2 separate regions of the Homo sapiens genome follow, and region 2 is linked to region 1. Evidence: promoter capture Hi-C in human tissues and cell types (Jung and others, 2019). All regions are on one chromosome and are shown on one strand. Each heading gives the region's core, a stretch centred on a gene start or on the middle of the fragment in contact. The rest is flanking DNA. Distances are from core to core; before and after follow the strand shown.

What was found. Contacts are between HindIII fragments. The study calls those that stand out against the background at their distance.
Region 2: a contact is called between a fragment that was not itself captured here and the fragment with the promoter of MAB21L2 in region 1, in 1 of the 25 tissues and cell types used here (lymphoblastoid cells).

Annotation. Positions count from the first base shown.
Region 1 is chr4:150,579,533-150,586,881 of GRCh38, reverse strand. MAB21L2 (mab-21 like 2) reads right to left here and starts at 4,731. Exons shown (of 1, transcript NM_006439.5): 1 at 2,189-4,731. The coding sequence starts at 3,852. The coding sequence ends at 2,773. All of the region lies in intron 40 of LRBA (LPS responsive beige-like anchor protein), which reads left to right. LRBA-AS1 (LRBA antisense RNA 1) reads right to left here. Exons shown (of 2, transcript NR_149035.1): 2 at 5,648-7,278. The HindIII fragment of the contact is 7,167 bases long and covers 1,905-7,349 here.
Region 2 is chr4:150,737,162-150,744,510 of GRCh38, reverse strand. All of the region lies in intron 35 of LRBA (LPS responsive beige-like anchor protein), which reads left to right. Among named protein-coding and RNA genes, the nearest start is that of MAB21L2, 160 kb to the right of the region's middle. The HindIII fragment of the contact is 3,953 bases long and covers 648-4,600 here.

The DNA.
Region 1 (7,349 bases), core at 3,482-5,981:
GATTTCTGGTAACTTCTGAATTTAAGAAAGACTGGGATTTAATTCAAGATATTCTATCATGCTTTTAAACACATATAGAGCAAAGCCTAAAATTTGATTTAATTTAAAAGTGTCTAATTAATTGTTCTGAAAATTAGAATCTCTGCCAATGTGTGAGATTAGGTTCTTTGAAGTTATTTGCTCCTTTTAGAGAAGTTACAAGTTTTGTCTCTCTCTGATCTGATTCTGTACAGCATCATTAAATTATTTTTTTCTTGTTGCTTGTGAAATATGGAGATCTTTTGGCTCAATGAAGAAATGGTCTGTATCACTGCAACCTTCCTTATATTCCAGAAGTTAAAACTCCTGCCAATTTATATTAAAAACAATTTTTCAGTCAGCTACTGGGAGAAGTTTTAATTTTGTATAGATGTTAATGCTTTAAGGTGTTCTGTAAATGAGGACATTTATGTTCCTGCAGTGTTTTTCCTTTTTAACTGATACCTGCATTAAATTAAATAAGGAAGAAGAAAATATGCTGAATTGGGGATATTTTTGTTTCTTTTTGTCAAGACTTAAAAACTTTTTTTCTGGAATAGTTGGAGGGAGATGTATGTCTACTGCTGTAAATACTTTTGTGAGTGAGAAAAATGGTCACTTATAGATATTCTTTTTATCTTTGAAACCAAACACTATTCCTTTAAATCATTTTGTGCAAATGTAAGCACCTACTGTTTGTTTGAAAATGTTTTTAAAATTCAGAACATTTTCCCCAGAGAATAAATTGGTTTTTATAATTTAAAAGAATTTGTTTGTTTGAGCCACTTAATATTACTGTGAAGAATACAGGAAGAGCAACTAGAAAAATAGATATAATAGAGGTTGAGTTGAAAGAGTGGAGATGATTTCAGAACTGATAGGATCAAAGTTTATATTTTTAACACAGGACTGTTTTTACCAAGGAATCTTACACAACTTAAGCCTGTTTGTCAAGTGAACTAGGCTTCAGACCCCTGAGTGGCTTTCTTGTTTTTCATCTATTCTGCTATCCTGCTGCTCATCCCTCCATACAGCCCTTCCCCCTCTCAAACTTCTTCCTCTGATCTTTAAAATTGCCTTTAAAAACATTTTTCTCTACACCTCTCATTTGTGCATTTTCTCAATAAATTAAAACCTGGGCTAATACAAAGAATAAATGTTAGATATTAAAGGGTAACATCTGACATATATTCTGTACCTGTGTCTCATCATTAGCATAGCGAATGGAGTATATAGTTACCTTCAACATAAGCAAGACAAACCAATTCCTTTGGGATACTTTCTGTTTGACTAATTATATTATTTTCTAATCAGTTATTCCCTTGCATTAAAAAGAAACCTTTGTTAAAGCTGAAACATTGAAATGAGTATATTGGTTTGTTACCTTAGAAAAACAGAAAGAGGAGGAAGGTACTTTTCCTATTTCTAAATCCTGGAATAATAATTTTTCTTTGGTTATAAAAATGGTATGAAAACCTTTTTTGTTTGAATTGCATATAAGCAGTTTCAGAATAATTCTTGAAATTTGATTAAAATAATCATACTTATGGAATTTACAACTAAGCCATTTTAAAATGGAAGTAATTTATAAATCTGAATGGTTCATATCACCATATGCTTGGGGAGAGGATTATTGCTATAACCATTGTATTTTTTGTTGTGGTTTATTTAATTGTTAAATTTTTATCACTCAAAGCTTGAAGAGGACAAACGGTTGAAGGAAAAGTATCAACTGACTTTGTTAACTATTCAGAAAAATCCATAAATATTTCCTTTGTATATCGGATTCAGATTGGATTTTTTGAAATTATGGCATAAGAAAGCACATCTCTTAATTTTTAATGTGAAAAAGTTTTTTCTATTTTAAAAATTAGGATCAAAATATTTTCTTTCATACTTTTTTCCCAAGCGTGAAGTAGATGTTACTTTTAATCTTAACATCTACAGAACAAATATATATTATAGTTGAGTAAAATTAGTGTTTTCTATTTTCTAAGGATTTGGGTCGGAACTTATACAGTCAATTCTACAAAATGTACTGTATTTAAAATTTTGCAAATCAGTTCAAGTGGAAGCTTCTTGCATTTGATTCCTCGTCACATCTTTACATTGGAAATTATAAACTGTGATCTCACCTGCCTTCACTTAAGAACAATCCACAAACAGTCAATTACAATGTAAAGTAATGTTTTTATTACTGTTTTCAACAAGACAGCTCAGGGTGAGGGTAGAGGTTCAGGAGAGGGAGGAGCACAGTCTGACATTGGCACTGAGAACGTTTAACATCAGTAAAACTTTTTTTTAAAAGAGAAATTTTACATATAGTTAAATAATTTTTTCACTTGGTGACAACATTCAGGCAACCAAAAGCAAAACGAAATGGGGGGGGGGATGGGGTGGAGAGAAAAAGGATAGGGGGAAAGAAGGAAAAGGGGGGGGAACTACTATACATTGATTTGAAAATGTACCTTGGGTTTCATTTTGTGGTGGCGGAGCCCGATTGCTTCTTTTGTGTGACCTTTTAAATTCACATTGTTTGGAAGAAAACGATCACTTTTGTGCAAGAATGTGATTTGTTTTGGTTGGGTTGCTCTCTTTTTGTTTGCTTCTTAATTAATGAAGGTCTTCTGCCGGATTCCTATTTCAGGTGACTTACATAAAAGTTTGTGTCCAGAGTTTCTGCTGTTTATAGCAGAGTTGTGTGTCTGAGAGAGCACGCCCGTTTGTGTCGCTTTTCAAGCAGTCCCCAGCACCCTATAGTTTGTCCAGGCTTTTGGGATTGGTGAGAATTTCCCTGGCCAACCTCCAGGTCTGCTTGGCAGCGCTCTCCAGGGCCGAATGGGGCTTGCCCTGAAAGAGGTCGAGGTTGGGCAGAAAGTAGTGAGGGCAGCGGCGGCACTGCAGGCAGGAGATGAGCTGCAGCAGGATGCCGTTGAGCCGGTCGCCCAGGCACGACTCGTCCCAGTCCGTTTCTCGTGGGTGTTTCTCGCACTCGTACAGCAGCAGCGTCTTCATGTGGTAGTTGTTGAGCGGCTGGCCGGGTAGCTCCAGGTGGCGGTCCCGCAGAGTCTTCAGCACTGAGAGGCACTTGTTTCGGCAGCCGCCCATCAGCAGGCGGTTCTCCGCCTCCCCGAACTGTAGCACCCAGGCGTCGCTCTCTGCCGAGCTCTGCTTGCCGGTCAGCGAGTAGCACTCCTTCGAGAGCAAGTTGAACCCTTCGGCCTTGACCTCGGCCACCCGATTGGGGCCGGGCCAAGGGATGTGGGGCATAGGCCACTGTGCCGCGCTGCGAGGCCAGATCCCGGTGCACTTGAACGCCGGAGTGATTTGCACCACATAGCGCTCCCTGATGCGCAACTTGACCTCGCTGGTGTCCGCGATCATCTTGACCACATCCCGATAGCTGCACTTGTCCACCGCCTGGGCCACCAGCGTCTGGAAACGCGAGCGGATCTTACGCGCTGAGAGATAGCCCGACGCCGTGATGAACTCGACCCAGAGAGACATGCTCCGCTTCCGCCCATCGCTCAGTTTGAGCACTGCGCAGCCGGGCAGCGAGCCGTCGTCCACGAAGTTGAAGACGCCCATCTGGTTTAGGTAGAGCACCACCTCAAATTCGGTGGGCGAAATGACCTCGAGCCCCTCGTAGCGGGCATCGATCTCGCTCAAGGAGCTGATGAAGCGAGGCTCCTGCACCTCCACTTCCTTGAGCACGTCCGAGACCACCTTACAGACCTCTCGGATGGTTTTGGCGATGGCCGCCTTGCGCGCCTGACAGCGCTCAGTGTAGTACTTATTGAGCTGGTAAACCAGCTTGGCCTGAGCGGCGATCATGTTGGGGCACAGGTCCGGGCTATACACCGGCGTCTCGCAATACGTTGAGGGATCCAAGGCTCACGCACTGGTGGTGGCCCAGCGGCTTTCGAAAGAGGCGGTGCGCTCCCCGTTAAGCCCTACTTTCACTCTCGTTTTCCACCTGGGCTGACCGGCTGATACCGTAGCCGGCTTGTTTTTTCCTTTTCCCTCTTTCGAAACCTCTTTTCTTCTGCAGAAGAATTAGGGGAGAAAAGGTGATTTTCTAAAAAGAAAAGTACCTCTTGGAACCTTTTTGCTTTCTCTTGATATGTAAAGATGACCGTGTGCGAGAGAAGCGGGGTGGGCGTGAGGAAGGAGAAGGAGAGGGAAAAAACTCAGGATACCAAAAGGTTAGGCTTAGATGTCTGCAGCCGAGATTGTCCAGAAATCTGGAAATGAGGTTTTTTAAGTGCCAAAGTAAATTTAAAAATAAAAGCGAAACATTCAGTGGTTCATTCTTAAACTTCTCTTCCACGCTGATAGGACTTCTTCGCTCAGTGTAGGTGAGTGCCTTCTTCCTCACCCTCCCCCAAATGGAAGGTGCAGGAGGTAATTAATGTCCAGAGAGCTGCGAAGTACAACTCAGTCCGCCGTGCACTTGGAGGTTTGCTGACGCCCCACAGTCTCAGCGTGTTGGTCTCGTCTCTTCTCGGGGGGTCGTGTTATCGCAGTTTTCCTCTTTTCCTACTGGAGGCGTTGTTTGGACTGGGTTTGTTTGTTTGTAGTGGGTTCTCCTTGTGTTTCTTTAGGTGCAAACCGCTGGAAGTTGTTTGATAATCATTTCTGCTTCGTAATTTATACTTTTGGCCCTCACAAAATCCGTTTTAGTGTGACGAAGTCGTTGCTTGCGTTGCATCTGGGGTGTAGTTATAACGATTCAGGGTTTTCCTTCTTCTCCTCTAGCTTGCTTTTACAGATTCCACTTTCTGAGTCGTCTCTCCCCCTCCTCTCCCCTCCGACCTCTTTCTCGCCCCGCTCTCCCCCTGCTTCTCTCCCCCGCCCCCCTTCCTCGTGCTCGCTCTCTCTTCTTTCCTCTAACTCTCTCTGTCTCTCTCTCTCCCTCTCTCTTTCTTTCTCTCTCTCCCTCGCTGTTTCCTGGAGTTATTTAGTTTATGAATGGTCCCAGGGCCATCATGAGGGGGTGGAGCTTCAGTTCCTACAATCGCTATCCGAGCTGTCAGTGCTTTAGCCAATCCGAGAGAGAAGACAGGCACGCTTGGCGAACGGTAGCAGCCACCACTGCACTTGATAAAGAAACAGGGTAAAGAGAGAAGTAAGAAAATAGGAGGAGATAATGGGAGTCAAATGCTTGCACACATTTTACAGCCGTTCCTCTTTATCCTCCTCTCTTATCAGTAGCAAAGAAGAAAAAGAGTTTATATAGAAGGGACTCTCCTGGAGATGGCTGGAATAACGCGAGGGAGAGTAGCAATGGTTCAGAAAGGTTCACTTTTTTTTTTTTTAAATGATTCTATCAACATTGTGTAGTAGAAGGTGCAAACTGTAACAAAATTACTTTGGCTTGAAGGCAAATGGGAAGCGAAAGGGGAATCTGGGAAAGGACCTAATTTTTCCAGGTTTTTTCCTCCTTTAAAGTCATCCTCCTTTCTCTTCCCCTCCCCTCCCATTGTTGCCAAGAATCAGAGCAGTTGCTGTATATGTGCACCAGTGAGGGTTGGAGTGGATATAAGGTGAGGGTTTATAAATCTCTTTTTAGTAATTTCGATATGCTGTTTAAAAACAGGGCAGGGCAAAAACTAGTCCAAGCACCTTGTTTGATAATTATTTCATAATTAAGATTCACATGTATTTAATACCATTATTTTATCGTTACAAGAATTAACTAGTTACGAGAGAGAAAATATCTAAGTTGTGAGAAATGGTGCAAACTTACATGTCGTAGAACTTAGTAGGATATACTTTTAAAATAAGCTACTAAAATTGCTTCAAACTTAATGAAAAACAAGGCAAGTAAATGTAAACCTAAAGTTTTCTTAAAATCTTACTGTTGTAAATCTAATTGTGAATGTATTCTTAGGGGGTACAGGTACAGAGTTTCATTTGTAAAATGATTTTATTTTCATAATTGACTCTTGCTTTTAAAAGACTTCACTGCCACAAAAATCTATAACTATCCTGTTATTGATTACACAGATGGCTTCACTCCTCCCTAGGCATTTCAATGAAAGGCATGCATGTGCTTTTAGTATATGTATTATCCTAAACGAGTTGTACCCACTGTAGCCTTTCCATACTTTTGGGTGAAAAAAAAAGCTAGAACATTGTTTCTGATTTGCTTGATACTGAGGGTTTATGTATGAACCTAAGATGTCTGGATTCTGAATCTTTTTAACGTATTTCAGGTAGATGTGATTATTTTTAGTTTGATTTGGGAGGTTATATTCCAGCCCTGGGTTATGCGATAAAAATAAAAATCTATGCGTCCATTTGGGTGAAGACTTCGTTTTAGAAACCTGGTAGTTCGGCTTTTTCAAAACCCCTTGGGAGGGCTTGACTTACCCTCTTAAAGTCCGGCCGGGTGAACCTGAATTGAATTGCATAGGGAAGTTAATTTCTTTCTATCTACTTGGTATCAGACAATTGGGCCTCTTGGTTCTTTCTTACATACCTGGTGCGGACCACAGGCAGTTTGTCACCCTTCCTCTCTCGTTGCCATAAGTCCCTTTCTAAGGAATATTTGCTTAAAAAAAAACTATCTCGGATTTGTTGCTTAGGGTTTGTCTTCCCGCGATTAGGAAGAAGAGTCAGAATTAAGTGTCCGCGCGACTCTTGGACTCCAGAGCTTTAGTTAACTTCTCTGGAGTGGCAGAGACTTGGGCTGCTTGACCTCCAGCCTTCTCCGGGGAGGCCGCGTGCGTCCCGGAACGCCTCGCCGCCTAAGGATCTAGGGGACCTCGCGCCCTCGGAGTTCGCGCCTGTGGGAGCCCGGCTCTAACCCGGGAGGCCTTGCCGGCGCTCTGGGAACTGCCTGGGCCGGAGGGCACTGCGCTGCCGGGAGAGCGCGACTGGCCGGGAGGGGCTCCGTGGTTGCTTCTCCGGGGGCAGTTACTGGGCGGAGACTGGTGGCGGGGATAGAGGGTGCGGAGCTTTCCCGCCCCACTCTCGAGGTGGTCGCTTCGTCGTTGCGTCTGGTTCGCGAATGGCCCGGCCCGCGACGCTCCCGAGAGTGAGTGTTTGCAAACAGCCTCAGGGGTGGCGGAGTTGGTTCGCATGGCTCCGCCGCCGCGCCGCAAGTCCTGCGCCTTCTCCTCTTCTCTCGGGTGGGGCGTCCCAGGCCGAGCGGACCTTCGCGCCACCACTCGCCGGACACTCCGCTGCACCTCCACTGGCGGCTCTGTCAAGCTCGGCTAAGTTTTCTCGCATCCTTGCCCCTACGCTTCTCCACTTTTACATACAGAGGGAAGGATGATAAAACGTTACAAATGTTTTGATTTAAAAACAATTCATTACCAATT
Region 2 (7,349 bases), core at 1,375-3,874, 160 kb before region 1:
TGAAATGATGAAACCTTTATTTTTAGGACATTGGCTATAAAACAGCATAAATTAAAGCTGAGAATATTACAAAGGAAATATTGACAAGACTTATTGATTGATTAGGGGCCTGAAGGAAGGTGGTAGAGAAGAGGGAAGAGACTAGAATAACTTTGAGGTTACTTGTTTGGGGACTAGTAGGATAGTGTGCCATTGACTAATCAATTCAATTAATGTTTGAAAGTACAAGGCAATATATTGATGTTAAATTCACAATGTGGTTTTAGGTCTCTAGAGGGAAATTAAGAACCCAAACCAGTATTTCACATCTGTACTCTTGAAAGCCCTTGTTTTTTCTATCGTAGAATCAGAGGAAGTTATTCATTAGTGGGTTTTAAAATTACACTAGGGATGGTTTTTGTCTGTAATGCCTAAATGAGTACTGTTTAATAGCATTTGAAAAAAAATACCCTGATGATGTCACCCCAAAATCATAGATAAGAAATTGCATTAACTTCTAAAGTAGCTGGAAGACAGTTTGGGGATAGAAGAGAGAGTCTGACAGAGCTGGAGTCAAATTAAAATAGTGTATGTGAGCCTAATAGAGATCGAAACAAAGTGATAGAATGGCAGAAAGCTTTTTTATTTTCTTTAAGGATTTTCTGTTTTCCTTTCTTTTGATTATTGATTGTTGTAAAGCTTCAAAGAACAGAGACATGTAAGGAGGAGGACTTAAGCCTCACTCACTAGCCCAGACATGTGCATGCTTTTTCTGTAAAAGGCCAGATAGTTCTTTAGGCCTTGCAGTACACATGGTCTTTTTCACAACTGGTCAACTCAGTGTAGTATGGTGAGTTGAAAACAGCCATGGATAACACTTAAACAAATGGGCCTAGTTGTGCTCTTATAGAACTTACTAACCAAAAAATGTTGGCAGGCTAGATTTGGCACACAGGCCTTAATTTGCTGACCCCTGTTCTAGATTATTGGCAATTAAAAGAAAGTGTATTTTCTTTTATATGTTCCCCAAGCTCATATTGTTCATAATATTCCTCAGGTTTATTTTTCCTCTTAATGTATATTGTGGACATTATTTTGTCAATTTGGAACAATCTACTTATATGATTGTATATTTTGATTCTTTAAGATTCTCACTTTCATAAATAGTGTTGTAGTGAAATTAATTGATTCATGAGGAATATTTTCCACATGTTTTTCTGCATTGTGGGAACATGTTCATATAGCGCATTATTAAGACTGCTGGCCAGGCGCGGTGGCTCACGCCTGTAATCCCAGCACCCTGGAAGGCCAAAGCAAGTGGATCACTTTAGGTCAGGAATTCAAGACCAGCCTGGCCAACATGGTGAAACCCCACCTCTACTAAAAATACAAAAATTAGCCGGGGGTGGTGACTCATGTACCTGTAATTCCAGCTACTTGGGAGGCTGAGACATGATAATCACTTGTACCCAGGGAGCGGAGGTTGCAGTGAGCTGAGATCCTGTCACTGTACTCTAGCCTGGGCAACAGAGTGAGACTCTATCTCCAAAAAAATAAAAACAATTTTTGTGACAATTGCTTTGGATCCAAGTTTATGTTTGCTCTTTTTTTGTTTTTGTTTTGTTTTTTGTTTTGAGACAGGTTCTTACTTTGTCGCCCTGGCTGCAGTGCAGTGATGCCATCATGGTTCACTGTAGCCTCTACCTCCTGGGCTTAGGTGATTCTCCTGCCTTGGCCTTTTGAGTAGCTGAGACTACAGATGTGTACCACCATGCTCAGCTAATTTTGTTGTTTTTGGTGTTTTTTTGTAGAGAAGAAGTCTCTTTATTTTACCCAGGCTTGTCTCAAACTCCTGGGGCTCAAGGAGTCTCTTTTCTACGTGCTGGGATTGTAGGCATGAGCCACTGTACCTGGCCTTATTTATATTTTAAATGAAAACATTGCTACAAAGTGAGGCAAGTGCCCTGTGGAATGGGAGTAAGTTCATGTCATTGTTGATGACTGCTAGGTGTAACTTTTGTAGGTGGGCATTTTCTAGTGGCAGTTTAGCCACTTTTGTTATATAAATTTAAAAAAATAATCCTTGCAGGCCATGTATGTTCATGCCCATAATTTCAGCACTTTGGGAAGCTAAGGCAGGAGGATCACTTGAGCTCAGGAGTTTGAGACCAATATAGGCAACATAGTGAGACCCTGTCTCTACAACACCACCAAAATAACTTACAGGGTACGATGGCACATGTATATAGTCCCAGCTACTCAGCAGGCTGAGGTAGGCAGATCACTTGAGCTTGGGAGGTTGAGGTTTCTGTGAGCCATAATTGCACCACTGCACTCCAGCCTGGGTGACAGAGCGAGACTCTGTCCCTAAAAAAAAAAAATAATAATAATAATAATAATGATAATAATAATAATTCTATCCCTGCCCGCTCTATGTTCTCAACTCCTATTAAAGAAGGAAGTTTAGAAGACCTATACATATCAAAAATGTTCCAGATTACATAAAGTGAATCATTCTGTTGATATGTTTATAAGTAAATGGTGTTATAAAAGCGCTAATCAGAATGGGTCGTTTGTTTATACATCTAAGACATTTTATTAAAATATTTAGAACTCCGTGGCCATTATCAGTGTTCCGTGTGAGTCCTCATATGGAGAGGTAGCACTGAAGGTTACCATTTCTTAATCTCTTAACTTCTAATACCATAGTTTTGTTTTTAAAAATTTTTATCTTTATACAAGGCAATTCATACATTTTATATTTTTTGTGTGCTTTTGCTCAATATTGTTAGTGAAATTCATATTGTTAGTGAAATTCATATTGTTATGCATAATATTGATTCTTTTTTTTCCTACTTAGCATTTTACTTTATGAAAGTCCAACATTTTAAAAATTAGTTTTATTTTTAATGGACATTTGGGTAGTTGCTAGTGTTTGGCTATTGTAAATAATTGCCATGAACATTTTTATTAATCGATTTTGTGATTATAAGAGTCCCTGTTACTTCACATCTTTGATATAACTTGGTGATGCCAGCCTTTTAAACATATATAGCCATTCTGTGGAGTATAGTATATCTTATGGTTTTAAGTTTTATTTCCTTGATGACTAGTAATCCTGAACAACTTTTCATAATCTTATTCACCATTTGGAAATCTTCTTTTGTGAAGTGCTTGTGTACTTTTCCCATTTTAAAAATTGTGATCATTTTCTTTTATTTGTAAGAGGCTTTTTAATATATTTAAGATAGCAGTTCCTCGTTGGTTGTAATTTTTCCAAGTATATTCTCTCTCTCTGAAGTTTGGCTTTTAATTCTCTTAGTGGTGGCTTTCATAAGCACAAGTCTTTAAATTTTGATGTAGTTCATTTTGTCACTATTTTTCTTATGTTTTGTGTATTTTTGTTTGGTGCAGTAAGTCTTTACATCGACCCAGTCAGGAAGATGCTCTCTTATGTAATCTTCTAGAAACTTTTTAAACTTCCTGAAATCTTTAGGTCTTGTCTAGGATTCATTTGGAATTGGTTTGTTTGTATGGTTTGAGGTAGAAGTCAGGGTTAATTTGTCCATATGAGCATCAGTTGATTGATCTAAGACCAGTTTTTGGAAAAGACCATCTTACTTATAAGTCTTTTAATATCATTATCATTATTATCATCTCTCTTCCCCTCTTTAAGAATGTCTCATGTATTCTTGTTTGTTTACATTTTCTATAGATTTTAGAATTAAATTTGAACTCATCAGATTATGCAGAAAGACCTGCTAGGATTTTGATTGGACTGTATCTATAAATAGCTTTGTGGAGAATTGATATCTTTAATACAAGCCTTTCCCTTTCATGAACATGGTATACTTTTTTCTTTAAGTTTTAACTTTTTTTTTTTTTTTTACCATTCTTTCTGTTTGACATGCAGAATTCTAGCACATTTTTGTTTCTTTTTCCTACATATTTTGATGGTTTTGAATGCTTTTCAAAATAGTATTTAAAAACCATTTTTACTTTGTTAGTAACCTATACATATAATCTAGTTGATTTTTGTGTATTTGCCTTAAATCCAGTGACCCTCCTAAATTCAATTATTACTTTTAATTGTTTACATTTTTCTTTTGGATTTTTTCAGTATTTCAAATAACTAACTGTTAACTTTATCTTCTAAAGTGTATTTTTTATTTTCTATTTAATTTCTGTTCTTATCCTTATTTAACTTTCAGTGTTCACTGGCTGTTCTTTTTCTGATTTCTTCAGTTCAATACTTGCATAATTTATTTTGACAATTTTTTTCTTCTTTAGTGTTTTTATTCAGTGTATCAATTTCCCTCTAAGCATTGGTTTAAGGTTTATCTAAATCCACAGATTTTGGCACATTGTTTTTACTATGTTTTACTGCAAACGTTTCCTAATTTCCATTATGATGTATTCTTTTATGTGTGCGTTTTTTTCAGAGGTGCATTCTTTAATTTTTAGACATGAAATGATATTACTTAGCGACTGCTGTGTTAACAATATTATCACAACTTAGCCTTAAAGAAACATACATTTGTTATCTCAATTTTTCTTGGTCAGGAATCCTAGGCATGGCTTAGCTGGGCCTCTCCTTCAGGTTCACTTACAAGGCTGCAATTGAGGTGCTGGCCAGAGTTGCAGTCTTATTTGATGTTTGACTAGGAAAGGATCTGCTTCCATGATCATGTGATTGTTGGCAGGATTCACTTCCTTTTGAGTCGTTAGACTGAGAGTCTGAATTCTTTGCGGGCTGTTGTCTGGGGCTCTACTCAGCTCCTTGCCATGGAGGCCTTTACACAGGGCAGCTCATAACATGACAGCTTTCTTTAGCTAAGCCATTAAGGGAGAGCGTCAATAGAGTCTGCTAGCAAGATGCAAGTTACCATCTTATTTAATGTAATTATTGAAGTGTTATTCCTTCATTGTTGCCATATTTTCTTGCTTCGAGGCAAGCCCCATCTCCTTCTTACACTCTAAAGGGGAAGATTACATAATGCTGTGGATACCAGGAGGTTAGGAAAGTCAGTGGTCAGCTTAGAGCTTCTTGCAGAGTGATCTGTATCCTGTTATTTCTAGTTTAATTGAAATGTATCAAAGAACATACTGAGTATGATTCCATCATTTGAAATTCACTGTAAATTGCTTTGTGACCCCGCATTTTGCCTGTTTTTTTTAATATGTTCCATGTTTACCTGAAAATAATATTTATTATTCACTTACTGGGTATAATGTTCTCGATATGTCAGTCAGGTCAGGTTAAAAAATATTCTATAGCTTTATATATTCTATATCTGGTAGTAGGCCATATTCTTAAGAGCATACAAATTTAGAATCTCAAAATACTAAATTTCTGTATCTCTAGTTCATTTATCCTTTTATTAATTTAACAGGTTTATTTTATTTCTGTTTGCTTCTCATACTAAAAAAAGTTTATTACCTTTTAGCTTTTAAAAATTGTTCATGTTTTCTGAAATTATACTTTTCAATCTTTGTTTAACCTTATATTGAAATTGTGTCACTTACAAGCATCATATGCCTTAAAAAATTGATTTGACAATAATTTTACTACTAAATGTTTACTTTCTATGTATTTCTGATATGTTTAGGTTAAAATTTATCATCTTATTATTTATGTCCTTTATATTTGCTCCACATCTTGTGTTTCTTTTTTTTTTCCTTCTTCTGAGCTAAGTATTTGTTGCTTAATTTTTTTCCCATTGGCTTGTTGGTTATATATTATTTTAAATAACTTTAGTGGTTACCCAGAGATTGTAGTATGAATATTATAATTAACATCTTACATAAACTGATTCTTTTGCCAATTGATGTATGACACAAGAAACTTATAACACTAATTCAGTTGGTTTCTCTTGCCTTGTATGCTGTGGTTATATATTTTAGATTGCAGTATTTTTTAATTCTAGAAGTTACATAATTATTGTAAACATTCAGTATACTTTTAGATTTACCCACGTTTGTCATTTTCATTGCTCCAATTGTTTTCCTTGACTTGTATCAATCTTATATTATTTTTCATCCTTGTGAAGTATGTTGGTTGGCTGGTGACAAATTCTCACTATTTTATTTGTCATGGAATGTTCTTATTTTGCTTTTGATGATGAGGAAAAGTTTTCCTCTACCCTCTTAGGTTTGTTGTTTGGGGACCTGTGAATTAAACAGACAAACACAGCTTAGCAAGAAAAAAGACCTATTTTTAGTCATAAGTCTGTCAGAATTCGGCCGGCTGCTGTGTCTCACACCTGAAATCCCAGCACTTTGGGAGGCCAAGGCGGGCGGATCACCTGAGGTCAGGAGTTCAAGACCACCCTGGCTAACATGGTGAAACCCCGTCTCTACTAAAAATACAAAAATTAGCCTGGCATGATTGTGAATACTTGTAATCCCAGCTACTCAGGAGGTTGAGGCAGGAGAATCGCTTGAACCCAGGAGGCAGAGGTTGCAGTGACCCGAGATTGTGCCATTATACCCAGCCTGGGCGACAGAGCGAAACTTCGTCTCAGAAAAAAAAAAAAAAAAAAAAAAAAGATTCAGAGAAAAATGTGACTTGAGGAGGGGGTTAGAATTTGGGGTTATATACATACCATTTTAATAGGGTAAAAGTGAAGTAATGAAGGGCACATTTGGGAAAGCTAATGATTTTGTGAACAGTAAGTGGGCCCTTAGGAGAATAGTTAAGTGATATTATAGTTTTGTATCAATGTCTATTTAGATAATTTCTCATCCTGGTACTAACTTCTCATCTTTACTGACAATAGTCAATCTTCCTTGGTTGCAAAACTCCCTGGGAAGGGATTGATGAAAGCTAAATTCTTTTGGGAGCTTCTTCATTTAGGTGGATAAAGAAAGTTCAGAAAAATACTCTTTTTTTTTTCCCACAGTGGTATACTCTTGACCCTTTAAATCTCATTATTGAAGGATACTTACTGAGGATAGAATGCTTTTCTTTCTCTCTCTCTTTCTTTCGTCTTTCTTTTCTTTTCTTTTTTCTTTTCTTTCCTTTCTCTCTCTCTCTTTTTCCTTCGTTCGTTCATTCGTTTGTTCATTCGTTCTGTCGGAGTCTCGCTCTGTCACCCAGGCTGGAGCGCAATGGTGCAATCTGGGCTCACTGCAAGCTCCGCCACCCAAGTTCAAGCCATTCTTCCACCTCAGCCTCCCTAGTATCTGGGATTATAGGCACCTGCCATCATGCCTGGCTAATTTTTATATTTTTAGTAGAGACAGGGTTTCACTATGTTACCCAGGCTGGTCTTGAAGAGGATAGAATTCTTAGGTGGTTGGTTGGTTGGTTTTGAGAGAGGATCTCTCTCTGTTGCTCAGGCTGAAGTGCCATGGTGTGATCATAGCTC